Regions from separate parts of the Homo sapiens genome. Here all the other regions are linked to region 2. Evidence: promoter capture Hi-C in 16 types of primary human blood cells and fetal thymus (Javierre and others, 2016). All regions are on one chromosome and are shown on one strand. The core of a region is centred on a gene start or on the middle of the fragment in contact, and the rest is flanking DNA. Distances in the headings are between cores, read along the strand shown. Region 1 overlaps ZNF319 (zinc finger protein 319). Region 2 holds the start of GINS3 (GINS complex subunit 3). Region 3 has its middle 9.2 kb from the start of SLC38A7. Region 4 overlaps LOC107984867 (a long non-coding RNA gene). Region 5 overlaps GOT2 (glutamic-oxaloacetic transaminase 2). Region 6 holds the start of SPMIP8 (sperm microtubule inner protein 8). Region 7 holds the start of GOT2 (glutamic-oxaloacetic transaminase 2).

The links. Contacts are between HindIII fragments. The CHiCAGO score rates a contact against its expected background, and 5 or more counts as called.
Region 1: a contact is called between a fragment that was not itself captured here and the fragment with the promoter of GINS3 in region 2, in 2 of 17 cell types (non-activated CD4 T cells and activated CD4 T cells). The highest score is 6.3, in non-activated CD4 T cells.
Region 3: a contact is called between a fragment that was not itself captured here and the fragment with the promoter of GINS3 in region 2, in 9 of 17 cell types (activated CD4 T cells, naive CD4 T cells, non-activated CD4 T cells and 6 more). The highest score is 10.4, in activated CD4 T cells.
Region 4: a fragment that was not itself captured here is called in contact with the fragment with the promoter of GINS3 in region 2 in 3 of 17 cell types (activated CD4 T cells, total CD4 T cells and non-activated CD4 T cells); the score reaches 7.9 in activated CD4 T cells.
Region 5: a fragment that was not itself captured here is called in contact with the fragment with the promoter of GINS3 in region 2 in 6 of 17 cell types (naive CD8 T cells, activated CD4 T cells, naive CD4 T cells and 3 more); the score reaches 6.7 in naive CD8 T cells.
Region 6: the fragment with the promoter of SPMIP8 here is called in contact with the fragment with the promoter of GINS3 in region 2 in 5 of 17 cell types (M2 macrophages, erythroblasts, megakaryocytes and 2 more); the score reaches 9.9 in M2 macrophages.
Region 7: the fragment with the promoter of GOT2 here is called in contact with the fragment with the promoter of GINS3 in region 2 in 4 of 17 cell types (activated CD4 T cells, naive CD4 T cells, total CD4 T cells and 1 more); the score reaches 6.7 in activated CD4 T cells.

What each region holds. Positions count from the first base shown.
Region 1 is chr16:57,991,949-57,994,818 of GRCh38, forward strand. It overlaps ZNF319 (zinc finger protein 319), which reads right to left. Exons shown (of 2, transcript NM_020807.3): 2 at 2,728-2,870. Among named protein-coding and RNA genes, the nearest start is that of ZNF319, 7.3 kb to the right of the region's middle. The HindIII fragment of the contact is 8,196 bases long and covers 1-2,870 here.
Region 2 is chr16:58,391,066-58,394,097 of GRCh38, forward strand. It overlaps GINS3 (GINS complex subunit 3), which reads left to right and starts at 1,406. Exons shown (of 3, transcript NM_022770.4): 1 at 1,406-1,722. The coding sequence starts at 1,537. RefSeq lists enhancers at 1,045-1,622, 1,229-1,718, 1,623-2,199. The HindIII fragment of the contact is 2,062 bases long and covers 174-2,235 here.
Region 3 is chr16:58,692,557-58,695,323 of GRCh38, forward strand. No RefSeq gene overlaps it. Among named protein-coding and RNA genes, the nearest start is that of SLC38A7, 9.2 kb to the left of the region's middle. The HindIII fragment of the contact is 6,848 bases long and covers 1-2,767 here.
Region 4 is chr16:58,765,411-58,768,216 of GRCh38, forward strand. The region is part of intron 2 of LOC107984867 (a long non-coding RNA gene); the gene reads left to right. Among named protein-coding and RNA genes, the nearest start is that of GOT2, 32 kb to the left of the region's middle. The HindIII fragment of the contact is 1,697 bases long and covers 442-2,138 here.
Region 5 is chr16:58,716,404-58,719,342 of GRCh38, forward strand. GOT2 (glutamic-oxaloacetic transaminase 2) reads right to left here. Exons shown (of 10, transcript NM_002080.4): 4 at 2,793-2,852; 5 at 2,124-2,285; 6 at 1,793-1,897; 7 at 260-410. Among named protein-coding and RNA genes, the nearest start is that of GOT2, 16 kb to the right of the region's middle. RefSeq lists an enhancer at 1,652-2,851. The HindIII fragment of the contact is 2,345 bases long and covers 433-2,777 here.
Region 6 is chr16:57,974,843-57,977,888 of GRCh38, forward strand. It overlaps SPMIP8 (sperm microtubule inner protein 8), which reads left to right and starts at 1,702. Exons shown (of 8, transcript NM_199456.3): 1 at 1,702-1,792; 2 at 2,973-3,046. The coding sequence starts at 2,975. The HindIII fragment of the contact is 9,202 bases long and covers 1-3,046 here.
Region 7 is chr16:58,732,787-58,735,799 of GRCh38, forward strand. GOT2 (glutamic-oxaloacetic transaminase 2) reads right to left here and starts at 1,530. Exons shown (of 10, transcript NM_002080.4): 1 at 1,354-1,530. The coding sequence starts at 1,442. RefSeq lists silencers at 855-944, 1,045-1,134 and enhancers at 1,257-1,875, 1,575-1,654. The HindIII fragment of the contact is 10,522 bases long and covers 1-3,013 here.

The DNA.
Region 1 (2,870 bases), core at 255-2,754, 400 kb before region 2:
GGCTGGCTCGCTCTTGCCTCTGACCTCCCAGCGCTACAGTCCTTCTGGGTGGCTACTATATGCCAAACATGTCACACAGATCATTCCACTGTGCCCTTACCCTAAACCTCAGAAGAGAGCATTATTGACTCCATTCCACAGATGAGGACATTGAGGCTCAGAGAGCTTCAATGGAACCAATGAGTGGAGACGTGGGACTCTAGCCAGGGCTGCCTGTGGTGCTCTGAACCAGGACACCGCACTCAGTCTACTACGGTTCACGAGTACAGGTTCCACCCCCAGAAAGCGGCATCCTCTCCCCCGTCCCCTGCAGGGCCAAGCATAGAGCAGAGCCAGTGCATGGTGGGAGTTTGGAAAAGCTGTCAGGATGATGGGCTTCCTAGGAACATCCCCTTTGGTGGCCCAGCCTGCCCTGGCACCAGCTTCTAGGACCCAGGAGAATGGCCCCCTCCCCTTCCCACCCCTGGTGTCTCTTTCACTAGCCAGGGGGAATGACTACCTCCCAAAGGCAAGGCTGTGTCAGTCTCTCCCTCCTCCTTCCTTCTTCTTCCCAGCCCTAGCCCTCATCCAGATGTCACCCTCATCCTAAAGCACCACACTTCCCATCCTCCCAGTGGTTGAGCCAAAAGGAATGATTAGCCAGAGGCTGAAGATATAACATTAGTTTATACTCCTAGTCACGACATCTGAAGCTCCCCTTTAAGATGCTGTGCTTGGCTGGGTGCAGTGGCCTGTAATCCCAGCACTTTGGGAGGCTGAGGCGGGTGGATCACTTGAGGTCAGGAGTTCAAGACCAGCCCAGCCAACATGGTGAAAACCTGTCTCTACTAAAAATACAAAAATCAGCCAGGCATGGTGGCATGTACCTGTAGTTCCAGCTACTCAGGAGGCTGAGACAGGAGAATCACTTGACCCTGGGAGGCGGAGGTTGAAGTGAGCTGAGATCGTGCCACTGCACTCCAGCCTGGGTGACAGAGTGAGACACGGTCTCAAACAAGCAAACAAAAAAATGCTATGCTGTAAGTGAAGGAGACACTCATCAGGTTTGGGACACAGGAAATTGGCCATCCTGTAGGTCAGCATTCCTGGGCCGGTTGGTGGGAGAAGTACCTGTATGACCAGGTGCAGTGAGCAGCTGCTTAAGCCGGTTTGTGCTGTTTCTGCCACTTACAACCAAGAGAGGCTAGTCGGAGATACCAGAGGGGAGCAGGCTGGAGGCCAGGAGGGGCAGGGAAGGGAAAATGGGCCATGGGTTGATCCTGGCGCCTTCCCAGAATCAGAGCACCAGGCCTGCTTCAGATGGGGAACTGAGGCCTGAGAGGGGCAGACAGAGGCCTTAGGCCATGTGTTACCAAAGGGCCTGGCCCTGAACCCGAACATCTGGGCTCCCAGACCAGGGACCCATTGGCTGCCCTGGTTTAGGCCCAGGCTGGAGCCTAGAGGCTGAGGGCCTGGTGGGAGGTGTAGGAACCCCACTGCTTTGTGAGGCAGGTAGGGGTAGGGACAAAGGAAGAAGCCACTGCAGGCTCCATGTGAGCTCAGCCATGTCCAGTCAGGGCCCCTCCTGCCCTGGCCCATGCATGCTGTCACCCACTTACAAGGGACAACCTGCGGCAGTAATTATAAAGCCTCACACACACGCTAGCACTTTCCAGGGGCCTCTCAGGATGGGTGGGTTTTGCCTAGGTCACATGGCGAGAAAGCAAGCTGGGACTTGAGCCTGGCACGGAACCAAGGCCCCGGGCATCCTCTTCCTGGGAGGTAGAAGCCTGTGGGAAGGAACCACATGGTTTCTCAAGGGCAGGTTCCTCCCGTGACCACCCAGAGGGAGGAAGAAGAGCATGGGGACTGGGTCACATCTCGGTCCCCTGGCCTTTCGCACCTTCTGTACCCAGCTTTCGGGCCACCTGCAGTGTGGGCAGCTCCTTGTCCTTTTAACTCAGGGCAAGGTGCCCCTGCTGACCACTTTCACTGGCTCTCAGGTGCCCGGGCCTGGGAGGCTGTTTTTCCCTCTCTCTCCCCTACCTCTATCCCCACCTTTGAGCAACAGACAGAGCCTGAGTTGCAGCTGGGCCACGGGGGCAGGGACGGGGTGCAGGAGGAAAGGTGTGCTGGAGGGGCTCAGGTGGGAGGCAGCTGGGCTGACCATGCAGAAGGGTCACTGTGTGACAGGGTGGGTGGTTGTGGGGTGACAGCAAGTCCTCCCCCTCCTCTGGGGCAGGGCCGGGCTGGCTGCATCTGCTGCTGCTGCAGGCAGGCCCTTGGTTTTCCACTGGGGCTGCGCAAGCTCTCATGCTCACCAGGCCCAGTGCCTGGCTTCCAGGCTTCCATGAGCTGCTGCTCTCTCACAGGTCAGCTCCCACTTCGGGGGCTGTGGTTAAAGCCAATGGAAGTGAGGAGGTCTCAGGCTCATTCCTGAAAATCCCAGGTGTCCTGGAGTTGGTACTGTCAGCATCTTCAAACATCCCCACCAGGGACTTTCTATAGGGCTCTATTTAATTCTCACAACAACCAAGCAAGGCAAGGTGAACCTCCCCATTTTACAGATGAGGCAACTGAGTCCCAAAGAGGTTCCCAAGGCCACACAGCCAGAACGTTCAAAGCTCAGGATTCAAACCCAGCCCTATGCCCCAGTCTCCAAGCCGCCACTCAGGCCTGTGCCCCTCTCTGCCTCTCCATGTCCATCGTTCCCCTGTGGAAGAAGGAGCAGAACAAGCAGTGCAGTGGTCTGTGACGGTCAATGTCTTTACTTCTAAAGCATACATTGGACTCACTATATATTAACATCAAAAGTGGCTACCTAAAATGGAGTCATTCTTTTTAAAAATCCAAATCCTCACATTTTTATATAAGATCCAAAATGACATGAA
Region 2 (3,032 bases), core at 156-2,655:
TAGTGGCCAATGCCTTTGAAAATTTTATTATAGTTCTCAAGAGAAGGGGCTGTGCCTACGGCCACACGAGAAAGTATTAGGGTCAATGAGGAGGTAGAGAGAGCGAGGAGAAAGCCCAGAGCCTTTATTGCCGTGGGAAGGAATGGGCGAAGCAGGGAAGGGAAGTCTGAACAAGCTTAGGATTGAATAATTTGAATAATGTTGGCAAGCTCTGGGATATAGAGGTGAATTTTAGTTGTCTGGTACTTGGCCATGGGGTGGTTTATTACAGTGACTTGGGGCAGGGAAAATATTGGTGTGTGAGATGGATAAAGATGGTGTGGGGATATAGGCTTGGGTTGGTTGGTTTGTAAATGAAAGGGGTGTTCACAAGCAAGTTGTTTGCTATCTCTAGGAATTAGCTAACTCTGAAAGGGGCAATTCCTCCCCAGGTCCCCAAGGCCCCAAGATGTCAAAGCATCATAAAATACAGAAAACAGAAACTAAAATCCATGGTTAATACACACCTCCCTTCACACACACCCTTTACTCCCGGCTCCAGTAGCCCCAGAAATGCTCTAGACGAAGTAAGTTCTGTAGTGCATCTCTCAACAATATGCCGCCACCCATAGCCCTGGCTGAGGAGAGCCACCAAACCTGGTACTATGCGACCATGGTCCTTCCCCTGGTCACTGGATAGTGATCGCACCCAACACAGGCACCCCCATCTACAGGGTGGCTGGAGATCTATGACCATTGTGGCGTACCTGGACCAATCAATAAACTGGACCAATTGGATTTCCATTTTTAGGGATTTAAATTCAGAGCCACAAAAGGAGATTGTCAGTTGATGATGAGCTAAGACACCCTGAAGTATACTCACAACCTTAGCAAGCCATGTGCAGTCTAGTGCTCCACCCCTCTACCCACCCCGTCCAACCCCCACCAAAATACTAACAAAATACAACACACTAGTTCATCATCTAGACCATAATAACTCGCTGGGGATAGTGCTGGAAGTTTTTGTTTGTTTAACATTTCTTTCAAATACTAAGATTAACGGAGTTGCATAGTGAAAAAAACTGTAGGAAAGGGTCGGACTTAGGCCTGGAGTGAAGGGCACAAGATGCTTTTATTTTAAACCCCTAAAAGTGTTGCAAAGTGTTTTTAATTTCATATAAATAGTTAAGGATCACATGAACACAATCCAGTACAAATGGGTCCAGGAGCTTCAACGAGCGTTCCAGCTTCTTCGTAACGTTCCCACACCGTGCAGCAAGCGGAGGGAAGAGAACTTCCGGCGCCCCCACCTACCGCTCCCCAGCCGTGTCCCGCTGCTCTAAATCTGCAGACTTGATCGATTGCTTCTGCCTGGGCGGTACCGCCCGAATTGACTGCTCCTGTCTGATGCGTCCCCGGGCGCGGGAAACGAGTTTCAATCCACTTTCCTGACCCCAACCATCCTGCCCAGTCTCCGCTTCCCCGTCTTGTACACCCCTAACTCCTGAGGCTCCTCCGAATCACGCGAGTGGAAGCGGAGAAGCTCAAGTGGCCGCCATGTCAGAGGCTTATTTCCGAGTGGAGTCGGGTGCGCTGGGGCCTGAGGAGAACTTTCTTTCTTTGGACGACATCCTGATGTCCCACGAGAAGCTGCCGGTGCGCACGGAGACCGCCATGCCTCGCCTTGGCGCTTTCTTCCTGGAGCGGAGCGCAGGCGCCGAGACTGACAACGCGGTCCCACAGGTGAGCCTTTGGGTGCGGGGTCCTGCCCGGAAAGACTGCAGCTCCCGGCGGGCCCCTCGGCCCTGGGACGCCGCATCGGGGCGCGCTGCCCTTTGGGATTTGTAGTTTTCGAGGAGCCAGGGCCGAAGGCGCTAACGACTTCTCGGAAACTCCGCGGGGGTCCCTTCGCGCTCGGGGTGGTCTCCAGACTTCTTGTTCGCCATCTGTGGTGAAACTACATTTATCCTAGGTCGCCAGGCAGCCTCCAACATTGATTTCTTTTTTGAAACTGTCCAAATTAGTGTCTTCCCCCTACCCCATGCAACGTGTGTTGAATGCTTAAAGATTGGCTCCAGCTGAATACTTAAGAATTAGAGTTCTGATCATGTTTGCCTTAAAACAGCTTTGGGTTCTGTAAGAGCATGTGATAAGTAGGAACCCCAAGTTGCTAAATTCATTCCTCCATAATGATGACAGGATCAGTAAGCCCTACTGAGGCTTACTTAGTGGCAGCATGGTTGGGTGTGGGGAGTAAGCTTTTCCCTTTAATCCTTCAGCAACCAGAAAGGCTGGGTCACTTGGCCAGGGCTTCAGTTAGTGGTGAGCTGGGATTCGGAACCCAAGGCCATATGGCTTCAAATATAAAATTGTCCCAGGAACATGGCTTGTAATGATTAATTTGGATATCCTGTTTCACCTAAGTTTTGTATAGAACGATGTTTATTGTTTGGTCTGTTTGTTTCAAGTTAATTTTTATCAAAGTAATACATAACCAACGTTTTAAAAGTCAAATAGGCCGGATGCGGTGGCTCACGCCTGTAATCCCAGCACTTTGGGAGGCTGAGGCGGGCGGATCACGAGGTCAAGAGATCCAGACCATCCTGGCCAACATGGTGAAACCCCATCTCTACTAGAAAGCTGGGTGTGGTGGCCGGCGCCTGTAATCTCAGCTACTCTGGAGGCTGAGGCAGGAGAATTTCTTGAACCCAGGAGGCAGAGGTTGCAGTGAGCCGAGACTGTGCCACTGCACTCCAGCCTGGCGACAGAGTGAGACTCCATCTCAAAAAAAAAAAAAAAAAAAGTCAAATAGTACCAAAAGATTTATAAGAAAAAAAATAGCAGGTCCTGCCTTCCTTTTCCCACTTCCCCCTCCAAGTCCACAGGGCTCATGTACCTTTTTTAGTGGTGTCTTCAAGATTCATCTTCATATTTCTAAATAATATTCTTAAACTTACCTTGTTGGGTTGTTTTTTTTAATGTAGACATTATCTGTTGACTTCATCCTAGCAGATGAGGATTTCGTTCCCATACACACTGGTAAACATGGCGCT
Region 3 (2,767 bases), core at 173-2,672, 300 kb after region 2:
ATCCTGTCTTAAAATAAAAATAAAAATAAAAATAAAAATAAGTGTTCCACCTTCTGCCATGGGATGACTCAGCATGAAGGCCCTCACCAGATGGCAGCACCATGCTCTTGGACTTCCCAGTCTCTAGAACCATGAGCCAAATAAACTTCTATTGCTTATAAATTCTCCAGTCTGTGGTATTCTGTTACAGCAACTCAAAATGGACTAAGACATTTACTATATACAGTTTTGAGTGATTTTCTTAGTGGTTGCCCTGTGGATTATAATTAATGTTAGTACAACAATCTAGTTAGAATTAATACCAATTTAATTCACTTGGTTCCAAATCTTTGCTTCTATATCCTTTTGTTCTCTTCCCCTATATGTTACTTCAGTATGACAAGAGTTTATATACATTATAAACCCATCAACATAGTTTTACTGTTAAATTAAAAAAATTCTTTTTCTGACAGAGGGTCTCACTCTGTCATGCAGGCTGGAGTGCAGTGGCACAATGCTGACTCACTGCAACCTCTGTCTCCCGGGTTCAAGCTATTCTCCCACCTCAGCCTCCTGAGTAGCTGGGACTACAGGCATGCATTACCACTAAAAATACCTAATTTTTGTATTTTTAGTAGAGACAGGGTTTCACCATGTTGGCCAGGCTGCTCTCAAACTCCTGACCTCAAATTATCTGCCCACCTTGGCCTCCCAAAGTGCTGGGATTACAGGCATGAGCCACTGAGCTTGGCTCCATCAACATAGTTTTATAATTCTTACTTTATGCAGTTGCCTTTTAAATGAGAGAGCATGGCCAGGTGTGATGGCTCATGCCTGTCATCCCAGCACTTTGAGAGGTGGATATGAGTGGATCACTTAAGCCCAGGAGTTTGAGATCAGCCAGGGCAACAAGGTGAAACCCCATCTCTACCAAAAAAAAAAAAAAAAATTAGCTGGGTATGGGGGTGTGCACCTGTAGTCCCAGCTACTGGAGAGGCTGAGGCGGGAGAACTGCTGAGCCTCGGAGGCAGAGGTTGTAGTGAGCTGAGGTTGCACCACTGTACTCCAGCCTGGGGGACAGAGCAAGACTGTGTTTTAAAAAATAAAAAATAAGTAGGGAACACAAGAAAAGTGTTATACACAAAAAAATGCATTTGTACTACTTTTAATATTTACTATGTAGTTACTTTTACTGGTGCTCTTTATTTCTTCATTCAAATTACTGTCTAGTGTCCTGTTATTTCAGCCTTAAGGATTTCCTTGAATATTTCTTATAGGACAGATCTGCTAGCAACAATTTTCTCTGTTTTCATCTGGGAATGTCTTAATTTCTCTGTTTTTGAAGGATAGTTTTGCTGGATGCAGAATTCTTAATTTATGGTCTTTTTCTTTGAGCACTTTGCATGTGTCTCCTCACTGCCTCCGGCCTCCATGGTTTCTGATGAGAAACCAGTTGTTAAGCTCACTGAGGAGCCCGGTATGTGTTCCTTCTCTTGCTGCTTTCAAATTTCTCTCTTTGACTTTGGATAGTTTATGATGTTTCTAGGTATGGATCTCTTTAAGATTATCTTAGGCCGGGCGCGGTGGCTCACGCCTATAATCCCAGCACTTTGGGAGGCCAAGGTGGGCGGATCACGAGGTCAGGAGATCGAGACCATCCTGGCTAACATGGTGAAACCCCGTCTCTACTAAAAATACAAAAAATTAGCTGGGCGTGGTGGCGGGCGCCTGTAGTCCCAGCTACTCGGGAGGCTGAGGCAGGAGAATGGCGTGAACCTGGGAGGCGGAGCTTGCAGTGAGCCGAGATTGCGCCACTGCACTCCAGCCTGGGCAACAAAGTGAGACTCCGTCTCAAGGAAAAAAAAAAAGATAAAAAAAGATTATCTTAGAGTTTCTTGGATGTGTAGATAATGTTTTTCTCAACTTTGGAAAGTTTTCCATCATTATTTCTTCAAATATTCTTTCTGCTCCCTTCTCGCTCTCTTGAGACAGCCATTATGTATATGTTGGTATGCCTGATGGTGTCTCACAGGTCTCTGAAATTCTGTTCATTTTTCTTCATTCTTTTTTTTTGAGACAGTCTGGTTCAGTCACCGAGGCCGGAGTGCAGTGTTGTGATCTTGGCTTACTGCAACCTCCCTCTCCTGGGTTCAAGTGATTCTCATGTCTCAGCCTCCTGAGTAGCTGGGATTACAGGCACATGCCACCATGCTCGACTAATTTCCATATTTTTAGTAGAGACGGGGTTTCACCTTGTTGGCCAGGCTGGTGTGGAACTCCTGGCTTCAAGTGATCTGCCCTCCTCAGCCTCCCAAAGTGCTGGGATTACAGGTACAGCCAGCCCTCATTTTTCTTCATTTTTTTTCTTTCTCTTCCATAGGCCGGATAATCTCAATTGATGTATCCTCATGTTCAGTGATTCTTCTGTCAGCACAAATTTACTATTGAGCCCTTGTATTAAATTTTTAATTTCAGTTATTACTGTACTTTTTAACTCCAGAATTTCTATTTGGGTCTTTTTAATAATATCTATTCATTGATAGTCTCTATATGACAGGACGCTGTTCTCATACTTTTCTGTAGTTGTTCAGACATAATTTCCTTTCACTCTTTGCCTATGTGATTCCAAGTCTTTGTCTAGTAAGTCTAATGCCTGGGCTTGGGCTTCCTCAGGGACAGTTTCTATTGACTGCTTTTTTCCCTATGTATGGACCATACTTTCCCATTTCTTTACATTTTTCATAATGTTTTTGAAGACTAGACATTGAAAAATAATATAATATGGAAA
Region 4 (2,806 bases), core at 40-2,539, 370 kb after region 2:
GTTATGTCATTTTTTTTTTTTTTTTCTGAGACAGGGTCTAACTGTGTCACCCAAGCACTGGAGTGCAGTGGTGTGAACATGGCTCACTGCAGCCTCGACCTCCTGGGCTCAAGTGATCTGCTTGCCTCAGCCTTCTGAGTAGCTGGGACCACAGGCTCATGCCACTATGTACAGCTACTTTCTACATTTTTTATAGAGATGGGGTCTCATTTTGTTGCCCAGGCTGGTTAAGAACTCCTGGGCACAAGTGATCCTCCCATCTCGGCCTTCAAATGTGCTGTGATGACAGGTGTGAGCCACTGTGCCCAGTGTTCTATTAATTTTTGAGAGAGAGAGAGAGATACTGAAATTTCCAAGTATAATTGTAGATTTATCTATTTTTATGGACCACATTTTGAGTTGCAAGAATCTGGGTATTCCCTGCTTCTTACTTCTCTGGGAAGCTTTTTCTAACCTCTCAGCTCACCCTAGAATGAAGTACACTCTACTTTTGCAATCAGAGCATTTAACAGTGTTTAATTACCTGTTCATTATTCTGTCCCCGCACTAGATCATTATGTCTTAGATAACAGTGATGGGGTTTTGTTACATTCATATATGAAGGACTTGAGAAATATATATATATTTTAATCGAGACGGAGTCTCGCTCTGTCACTAAGGCTGGAGTGCAGTGGTGTAGTCTTGGCTCATTGCAGCCTCTGCCTCCTGGGTTCAAGCAATTCTCCTGCCTCAGCCTCCCGAGTAGTTGGGATTACAGGCATACGCCACCATGCCAGGCTAATTTTTGTACTTTTAGTAGAAACAGGGTTTCATCATGTTGGTGAGGCTGGTCTTGAAATCCTGTAGTCAAGTGATCCGCCCACCTTGGCCTCCCAAAATGCTGGGATTACAGGTGTAAGCCATCATGCCCGGCCAACTTGAGAAATATTTGATGATATAAGAAAGATATTTAGGACTCAGTAAATGAACATATGGCATAACTAAAATCAGAAATCAGAATTCAGTGGAGTTAGGGAATTGCTGAAAGGAGTGGCAATGAGAATATAAAGATCTTAGAACTGAACAAAAATTATTGGGGAGGGCATGACTTTTCACATGATGCAAAACGGAGAGTGAAAGCTGAAGAGAACATCTGTTATTGTTTTTGTTTCTTTTTTCTTTCTTTCTTTTTTTTAAACATAGTCTTGCTCTGTCACCTAGGCTGGAGTACAGTGGTATGATCTTGGCTCACTGCAACCGCTGCCTCCTAGGCTCAAGTGATTCTCCTGCCTCAGCCTCCCAAGTAGCTGGGATTACAGGTGCCCACCACCATGCCTGGCTAATTTTTTTTTTTTTTTTGAGACGGAGTCTGGCTCTGTTGTCCAGGCTGGAGTGCAATGGCGTGATCTCGGCTCACTGCAACCTCCGCTTCCTGGGTTCAAGTGATTCTCCTGCCTCAGCCTCCCGAGTAGCTGGGACTACAGGCACGTGCCACCACGCCCAGCTAATTTTTTTGTACTTTTAGTAGAGACGGGGTTTCACCACATTGGTCAGGCTGGTCTTGAACTCCTGACCTCATGATCCGCCTGCCTCGGCCTCCCAAAGTGCTGGGATTACAGGCGTGAGCCACTGCACCCAGACAATTTTTTGTATTTTTAGTAGAGACGGGGTTTTGCCATGTTGGCCAGGCTGGTTCAAACTCCTGACCTCGGGTGATCCACCCACCTCAGCCTCCCAAAGTGTTGGGATTACAGGCGTGAACCACCATGCCCGGCCTGTTATTGGGTTTGATTAGCATTTACTCAAATTAAGAGGTTCATATTGCTGATCCTTTTTGTTTCCCTTCCTTCCAAAGGATCCAGGTAAAATGTTGACCAACATGCAGGAAGTGGGCATCAGTCAAGAGCTCATGTGAACATCCAGGGATCACAGAGATTACAAGGGTCTATCCTGGGTTTTGTGGCCCAGCTGTAGGGAATGAGGGATTTACTTTGTTTACAGTAACCAGAAGTAGGAAATTAACGGGAAAATTAGGCATTATGGTTGGTGAAGAGAACCACTGGTGTACAGTAATAGTCTGAGGACACATGCCAGATTCTAAATGGAAAAGAGGTGAAAAAAAAAAAAAGAAAAAGCAAGAGGGGGATGGTTCAGGATGAAGCTTGAGAATGAGAGAAAGCTGCCAGAGATGCCTTCATTTTAGTCTTGTGATGTGGGGATGGGGCAACAGGCTTAACGGGACAGGGCTGGGCTCTGCTAGACCAGGTATAATCTTTAGAAGTGGTACATTCAGTGTCATTCTGCAATAGTGACAGAATGAAGCTCTTTCAATGCTTGAAGACCCAACTTACAGAGCCAAGACAGATGGTGAGCAGCAATCACTGAATGAATGTATAGAAAAATGTAAACTTCACAGAGCATTTTATCTCCCATCTGTTTCCCTCTGCAATTTCAACCTGGTACCATAAATCCAAATTCTGTACTTTCCCTCTTCAGGCTACCCATGTTGCCTCTGTCTTCGAAGGTTGCAGGCAGCAGAGCTGTTTTGGAAGTGACCTATTTGCCCAAGATGTTGAGTTTAGAGTTTTTAAAGGGGGTCCCCTTGCTTATGTTGTCAGACTGTATTAATGTATTCCTACACTGGGATTTGATTTTGCATATACAGTATCTTCATAAAGAGACCAAAATAGTTCATTCAGTAGCTTTGTGTTCAAATGCTCTGCCTTAGCTACTCACAGACTTACTCCACTGGCGTATTGATATATGACTTTATTCAGATCTCTGTCTAGGAATTGGCAATACAGATATAATTTGATATGGTCTTTGC
Region 5 (2,939 bases), core at 355-2,854, 330 kb after region 2:
CTCACGGATTTGTTACTTTTTGTTTAGAGAAGCAGTAATCAGTTTCCTTTGCTGGAAAAACTTAAGGACACCGAAGAATATATGGCTAAGAAAATCAGTAAAATCTACGATACTGGTCTTTCATCTTAGGGTAGGGAGGGACATGGACATGGATGGACACACACACACACACACACACACACACACCCACAAGCTCTATGCCCTCGTGGCATTCTCTCCCAGCATGAGAGCATGTGTCATGCTGGATGCTGTAGCTTACCATATAAGCCCATGTTCTTGGCATATGATTGGCAGAGGCAAACATTAATGCCCTGTTCGATGAAGTGGCGCACAGCCCAGGCATCCTTATCACCATCACCACTGGCAAAGCCTTGGTAGGCCATGTCAAAGAACGCAAAGAGATTCCTTTTCTGAGAAGGAACGAAAGATCGAAGCTTTAGCAGTCTTTCTGAAGAGGCCCCAGATGTTTATAAAAGTCTGAAAGATGTTTATGTGAGGTGGGCATGGTCCCAATAAGCACAATAAGCCTTTTCTGGGGCTAACGTAATCCTGGAAGACTCAACTTATACCCAGGACTCACGAGACAACATCATTAGAACCATTTTATCTTGAAAGTGCTCTCCAAATGCTGTTTCTGTCTCATTCTGTTTGCAGCTTAGATTTGACAGAAGTTAAAGAAAGGGAAACTGGCCAGGCATGGTGGCCCATGTCTATAATCCCAGCACTTTGGGAGGCCAAGGTGGGAGGATCACTTGAGCCCAGGAGTTTGAGATCAGCCTGGGCAACAAAGTGAGATGCTGTCTCTGTGAAAAATAGGAAGAATTAGCCAGGCAGGTGTGGCACACATGTCTGTAGTCCCAGCTACTCAGGGGCTGAGGTAGGAGGATTGTTTGAGCCCTGGAGGTAGAGGCTGCTGTGAGCTGTGACTGTGCCACTGCGTTCTGGCTTAAGGCGACAGAGTGAGACTCTGTCTCAAAAGAAAAAAAAAGAGAGAGAGAGAAAAGAAAGGGAAATGAAAAGGAGTGAAAAGGGAAAACAGGGACATGAGACAACAGGAATAACATTTTCCTCCCTAGGAATTTTGACTAGTGTCTTCTCTGACAGCTGGCTACACTTTGAGAGTGATCATGGCAATGCTGCAAAGGAGAGGACATGAAAAAGTGTTTAAAAAGATCAATAAGCAACCACTGACCAGGGCGAATATAGGCATCAACAGCAGACATCCTGGGGCCAGTGGACAGGTTTTATCAGAGTTCCCTACATCCAGGATGAGGAAAAAAATTATTTTCTTTTTTTCTTTTTTAGAGACAGAGTTTTGCTCTTGTTGCCCAGGCTGGAGTGCAGTGGCACAATCTCGGCTCACCACAATCTCCACCTCCTGGGTTCAAGTGATTCTCCTGCCTCAGCCTCCCAAGTAGCTAGGATTACAGGCATGGGCCACTACGCCCAGCTAATTTTGTAGTTTTAGTAGAGACGGGGTTTCACCATGTTGGCCAGGCTGGTCTCGAACTGACCTCAGGTGATCCACCTGCCTCGACCTCCCAAAGTGCTGGGATTACAGGCGTGAGCCACCGCGCCCAGCCAAAAAAAATTACTTTCAAATACTCATGCGTCATCAATCCCAGAACTGCTAATCACGCAAATGGGGAGCCCTTTTCTGGCAGCTTATCCACCTGTGTGGACATTTCACGCAGGTTCGAGGTTAAGACTCTCTGTTGAGACATTGCCAAATTAAGCCTCCAAAGCTGGTTACTAAACACAGAACTGTCGCCAGTGAGTTCATCGTCCTCACCTTCACCACTGTTGCTATTTCCTTCCACTGTTCCGGACGCGGGTCCACTCCCGTGGGATTGTGGGCGCAGGCATGCAGAAGAAGAACACTCTGCTCTGGTATTTTCTAAAGAGAAAAACAGCCAAGAGACGACTTTGCAGCTTTAAAGGAAATGGTTTATCTGAAATGCCACAGGATCGTCATCATTTGATAAGTAACAAAGGTAACCAGAACCCTGGGAATCAGCTCTTCCCCAGTATTTTAACTCAGATATTGGGACATGGTGGGAGACATCAAATGTCCGCAAGCAAGGAGTTTTATTCACCTCTCTCACCCTGAAAGCCACACTTACTGAAATATCCTCCACAGCGCCTGTGAAGTCAAAACCGCAAGTCTTGGGGTCATAATACCGATAACCTTGTAGCTGCATGCCAGCATCCCTGAAGATGGGTGTGTGGTTTCCCCAGGTTGGTTTGGGCAGAAAGACATCTCGGCTGAACTTAAAAAATCTTTGCTAAAAGATGGGACGAAAGGAAACAGAAAAATGAACAAAGGAGAGGCAAAAAAATGTTGATGTGTTTTATTGAGAGAACATTTTTCTCTGCTGAAACCCAGTTTCTCTCTATGGTTGAGAAGCAGTATTGACTCAGCAGTAAGACTGCCTGGGTTGGAATAGTCTCTGACAGTTATACTGGCCATGTAGCCAAGGACCTTTCTGGGTCTTGCTTTCTTCACTTGTAAAGGGGGTTAATTGTACCTCTCTCATAGGGATTAAACAAGTTAAAATGCAAAAGCTCCCTAGTAAATAGTAAGTTCCTAGTGAACTGAATTTATCATCATCACTAATATATCTTTCCTGTAATTTCTTCAAAGTCCTTTCATTTTTTCATGAGAATAGGACATCTGCAAACTTCACGGAAAGAAGAAATCTACTTCTGCATCAACAGTCAAATACACACACAACAGGAAGCCCTGTCATCTGGAATTTATAATTCTTTCCTGAAGAAGCTTCCAGACTCACCAGAAAACTGGCTCCGATCCTTAAGGCTCCAGTTCCAGAAATGGTCTGCACAGTGACAAACTGAAGGAGAGATACCCACGGTCAGTGATGTGCAACACTCTCTATACAGGCCCAGACCCAGGGCCACTGCTTTGTCCAGGACCTTTC
Region 6 (3,046 bases), core at 452-2,951, 420 kb before region 2:
TCTGGCTTCTTTGATGTAGCGTAATGTTTTATGAGGTTCATCCACCTCGTAGCTTGTATCAGAACTTCATTTCTTTTCATTGCCCAAGAGTATTGCATGGTATAGACGCACCACAGTTTATCCACTCATCAGTGGACACAGGTTGTTTCCACTTTTTGGCGATACATCATGTTGCTATGAACATTTGTGTGCAAGTCTTTGTGAAGATATATACTTTTTTTTTTTTGAGACGAAGTCTTGCTCTTGCCGCCCAGACTGGAGTGCGATGCTGCGATCTCGGCTCACTGCAACCTCCGCCTCCCAGGTTCAAGCGATTCTCCTGCCTCAGCGTCCTGAGTAGCTGGGATTACAGGCTTGCACCACCACGCCCAGCTAATTTTTGTGTTTTCAGTAGAGACAGGTTTTCACCATGTTGGCCAGGCTGGTCTCAAACTCCCAACCTCAAGTGATCTGCTCACCTCAGCCTCCCAAAGTGCTGGGATTACAGGTGTGAGCCATCGTGCCTCACAATATACTTTCATTTCTCTTGGGAAGCCTCCTGGGGTAGAATCTTCCAGATGACCCAATCATATGGTACATTTCTGTTTCATTTTTTAAGAAACTGATAAACTGTTTTAAAAGTAGTACTCCATGTCTTGACCAGGGTGGGTGGTAGTTATACGGGGTCTCATTTTGTAAATTATTAGTTACATTAGATATTTATTCACTTTCTGTATTTCTTCTATTTTATAACTTTAAAAGAGTCAAGAAATAAATTGGGGGTGGGGTGGTGAGTGGAGTCAACTCTGGGAAGGTTTTTTGTAAGGGGTAGCAGTTAGGAATGCTGTTCTGGAAGCTGTATGGAGCACTGGAGGAGGAGCAACTGGGGAAACAAATCCTACAAGAATTTCACAGGAGGGGCTCCAAGACCCATCAGGTTCAGCCCCTGGGCAGGTATATGCAAAAGCACATGCCAATATATGCAAATAAGTTAGGATCTCCTGGGGTTTCCTCACCTTGGGGGTCTGTCTCTAATGGTTGTGACCAGGATGGTGGGCAGGCCCCAGGGCTTTGGGGTGCTGGCCTTGGGCACTCACAGCCTGGCTTTTCTGGGAGCCTGCAGTCCTGCAGGGGCTGAGGGTGGAGTATCATCTGCTAATCCCTGGCCTGCTGAGTCCACCACTCTCCCTGATCCCCTCACGCTTACCCTGGATACTGGCCACAGCTAATCTCCACTCCTGGAGACTCAAGGGCTGGCAGACAGTGCAGTGCCCTCTTCCCTGAGGGTTCCAGGGAGGGGAGATCCCTCTCAGCATCCAGATCCTCCTAACGGCAGATCCTAGAGTCCTTGCCTAACACAGAGGAGAGCCTTGAGTCCCAGAGAGAGGCGGTAATTAGCCCAGGATTACACAGCCTGCAGTGGGCTCAGTAGCCATTTCTGGCCTGCCTTGGCCTGACTACCTCCAGGGAACCCCAGCTCCCCATCTGACATTTCCCAAGATGCCTGGCCTGTGCTAAGGCCTGGGAGACCACAGCCTTCAGGAAGGCTGGAAGGGAGTGGCCAGAGCACAGGAATTCTGGCACAGGCTCTTGTTAGAGCCTGTAGTTGCCAGGGTTGCTAAGGAGTGGGTGCCTCAGAATCAGGCTGCAATGGGCATTGTCTGTGCACAATGTTCCTTTATTCTGCTGCTGTCCATAATAAGGGCTCGTCCACCTCCCTTCCTCTTCTGCCCATTGAGCAGTCAAAGAACTGAAAGTCCTTATAAGCCTGTGCACCTGGGCCTGGGCCCTACAGATAAGGTAGCTGCTATTGGTGAGTCAGAAGCAGGGAGCCCTTGCTCTCTTCCCCATATCCGTGATCCCCCTCCCTGTCCCTCCCCAGGCAGTCACATCCCCTAAGGCAGCTTCCCCATGCCTTGTCACCATGCCCCCTCCCTGCTCCTCCATGATCTAAGGTCCTCTCTCCTCCTGCCACCCTAGCTTCCACCTCCACCTCTCACCTCTAACTCAGGGTCAGGAAGAAAGCAAGCTGTCTCAACAAATTCTCACTAAAGTGTAAATGACTGAAAGGCTCCTGGGACTATCTGCTTTTTAAAGGGAGGCACTGGGTATCCAGTAATGCTTTTCTAGTTTAAATATATCATGTTGCTCCCCTTCCTGAAAATCTTTCTGAGTCAATCTGTAGAATTTTGGGTAAATAGCTAGGGCAAGTCCATAATTATTCACCCAGAGGTATACGGCATACTAAGCTACATTCTGAACCCGCTTGCTGCTGCACTTTCCTGCTTATTATTTAAGAATAGACTCGCCAGGCAAGGTGGCTCACACCTGTAATCCCAGCACTTTGAGAGGCTGAGGCGGGTGGATCACTTGAGGTCAGGAGTTCGAGACCAGCCTGGCCAACACAGTGAAACCCCGTCTCTACTAAAAATACAAAAACTAGTCACATGTGGTGGTGGATGCCTATAATCCCAGTTCCTCAGGAGGCTGAGGCAGGAGAATCACTTGAACCCAGGAGACAGAGGTTGCATTGAGCCAAGATGGCGCCACTGTACTTCAGTCTGAGCAGAAGAGTGAGACTGTCTCAAAAAAAAAAAAAAAAAGAAAAGAAAGAAAGAAAAAAAAACGAATAGACTCAAATACCACCTCTTTTAGACCATTCCTTGAATGTCCTAACCCCAGCCTCCCCAGAAACACACACTCTGTACTGACCTCCCTCACAGCCATGGCACAATGTGAGTGTGTGTGTGTGTGTGTGTGTGTGTATGTGTGTGTTGGAAGGGGAGTGGGAGGGTTGTCTCTGTTATCTTCTGTTATCTGAATGTTCCTGCCACCTCATGCTGAGCTCCAGAAAAATGGCCTGGCACACAGTAGGTGCTAAATAAATGTTTGGCAAGTAGACATCGGCACTGGCCAAGGTTGTTTTCATGCAGAGAAGGGTGTCTGGCCAGCATGAGCCCAGGGTGAGCCCCTTAGAACCCTCTGCCCCCCAGCTATGGCCCGCATCATTGACCTGGTGCCCTGGGACGATGGCTCCACACATGTGTATGCCTCCCCGGCCATCCTG
Region 7 (3,013 bases), core at 280-2,779, 340 kb after region 2:
TACTGCAATAGGGAAACATACTTTCTCTTGACGGAAATTTTAAGCACTCCTTTGGTTTTCCAAATTTGTTGCATAAATAACTCCTCCTGGCTCTGGCCCACTAGGTAGGCAGACTTAAAGAGCACACGTTGACAGTGGGCCAGGAAGGAGCCAAGTCAGGAAGAGAAAAAAGTGCGAAGCCTGGGCAAAACTGTACTGCCAAGGCTGTGGGGCCTTGGAAAGGACAGATAGTTCTGCTGGCTGAAAGACACAGAGCATACATTCAAACGAAAGGCCAAGCTACGCTTTGCTCCTTGCAGTTAATACCTGCTTGGGGGTGGTTTTAAAACTCAGTTCCTTATTAAGGTAGTGCTTAAGGAGAGTGCTCCAAATCGGCTTCTTGAGTTGAATTAATCTTCTGGCTCCGGTCTCCACTGGGAATGAATTACTAGAGCTCGTTTCAAGCTCTGAAATTTCCCTCCATACTATTATACACGCCACAGTACGAAATTACGTTTGTCATTTTTTGAGCAATGACCATTTGTCATTGTCCTTCCCTCGCCTTGTTCACAGTTGTATCGTTGGCATCTGGTCCAGAGCCTGGCTCTGAGAAACTGCAGTTACGAAATATTTACTGAATGAAAGAGCACAGGGAGATGGAGAGGAAGATTGATAGCCTCCCTGCAACCGGACCTCCTTAGGGGCAATAAGGAAAAAACAAAACAAAACAAAAAAAGAGACACACTACACCTCGACCCTTTCCCAAGCAAAGGCCAAACGGGCCCCGGGGTCACAGGGACCTCGGGGGGTCGCAAGGTCAGGAGAATGCCGCACGCCAAGGTCGCAGGTGCGGGAAGGAAAGCGAGGCCCGAATGCCGGCGCCCCGGAAACCTTCCTCTCGCGCTCTTCCCGCCCAGGGCACACACGCGGCAGCCAGCCGCCGCCGGCCCACCGACTCGGGCGGGCCGGGGGCCAGGACAGGTGCGCCCGCCGCCCCCAGGGCACCCTATCAAGGGCACGGTCGTTACCCGGCGCCGCTGCCCCAGTACTATCCGCACCCCTCCCACTGAATGGGAGTCCGGCAACCGCCGAGGGCCACACTTCCTTTCCCTAGGGATTGCGTTGCACGCCTTCCTGCAGGGCCCAGTGCGGGGACCAGAGGGATGTGGGATCCTGAGGATCACTGTGGGGCACGGACGCTCAATCCTCAGTCCCCAGTAAGGGAAAGCCGAGGGGGTGGCAGAAAAGTGTGTGTGTGTGCGTGTGAGTGACAGTGTGTATTTGGGGGCCGGGAGGGGTGAATGTCCTGGGGTGCTCGCAGCTCGGCGGGGCAGGGCCATCGCCCTGGCTCCATCTCCGTTTCCCTTGGCTTACCTGGCTCTGGCAGAGGCCGCGGCGGCGAGGCCCGGGTGGAAGGCGGCGGCGATCCCGGGGAGGACGCGGCCGGAGTGCAGCAGGGCCATGGTGGACCGTAGGAGGGCAGTGGGCAGCCGCAGGACGGAGCAGAGGGCGAGCGGACACACACACAGGGAACCGGCTCCTGCTGAAGGTAAGGACAGGGACTTCCCTGGGCCAGAGCGGCCGCGTGCTGGGCCCGAGCCACGTCACAGCGATCCCTGGCGGCCGGCGGGCGGAGCGGCGTGGGCTCAGCGGAGGTCGTGGAAGAGGATGACTGCACAGTTTACCTACGCCCAGCCCTTGCTGCGCTTCATTCATTTAATCCAGCTGGGCCAGGCCTGGCCGGCCGAAGAGGTGGCTGCTGTTATGGCAGTTTGAAAGATGAGAAAATGTAGGCTGACATAGTTGACGTATTTTGTCTGATGCCTTACAGCCATTAGGACCCAAGGTGGCCTTACTTTCAACCCTAATAGTTTCCCTAAGCACAAGTCATGTCACGTCGTTCCTGAATGTTTCCTTATCCCCCACCCTTTTTTTTTTTTTTTTTTTTTTGAGATGGAGTTTCACTCTGTCACCCAGGCTGGAGTGCAGTGGCGTGATTTCGGCTCACTACAACCTCTGCCTCCCAGGTTCAAGCGATTCTCCTGCCTCAGCTCCCCGAGTAGCTGGGTTACAGGTGCCACCACCACGCCCGGCTAATTTTTGTATTTTTAGTAGAGACGGGGGTTTCACCATGTTGACCAGTCTGGTCTCAAACTCCTGATCTCAAGTGATCTGCCCGTCTCAGTCTCCCAAGACTGCTAGGATTACAGGCATGAGCCACCGCACCTGGCTTCCTTATCCCTTTTATGGAGAGGGTCGCATGTGTATTTTGTGGGGCAGTTGTGAGGATTAATAAGATTAGCAGATTATGTCTAAAACAGGGCCTGATTTAGTAAGCACAAAATAACCCATGGTCATTAATGACAAACTCGTGTATGTCAAATCCTGATAACTGTTTGTGGAAGGAAATGAATCGGTTTTGAAGGAAATGAATCGGTTTTAAAGGAAAAAGCAAATGAATTTCAGACACATCCACAAGTCAAACGAGTCTTTCTCATGTGTAGTCTATTTCTCTGATACTCGTCTCTTAAACCAAGGTAGGGGCCCGGTGTGTTGGCTTATGCCTGTAAACCCAACACTTTGGTAGACTGAGGCAGGAGGATAGCATGAAAACAAGAGTCTGAGACCAGCCTGGGTAACAAGATGAAACCCCCATCTCTTAAAAAAATAAAAAAAAATTAGCAGGATGTGGTGTTGCGTGCCTGTTCCAGCTACTCAGAAGGCTGAGGAGGGAGGATTGCTTGAGCCCATTAATTCAAGAGTGCAGGCCGGGCGCGGTGGCTCACGCCTGTAATCCCAGCACTTTGGGAGGCCGAGGCAGGCGGATCACGAGGTCAGGAGATCGAGTCCATCCTGGCTAACCCTCTCTCTACTAAAAAAATACAAAAAAAAAGTAGCCGGGCATAGTGGCGGGCGCCTGTAGTCCCAGCTACTCGGGAGGCTGAGGCAGGAGAATGGCATGAACCCGGGAGGCGGAGCTTGCAGTGAGCCAAGATCGCGCCACTGCACTCCAGCCTGGGCAACAGAGCCAGAC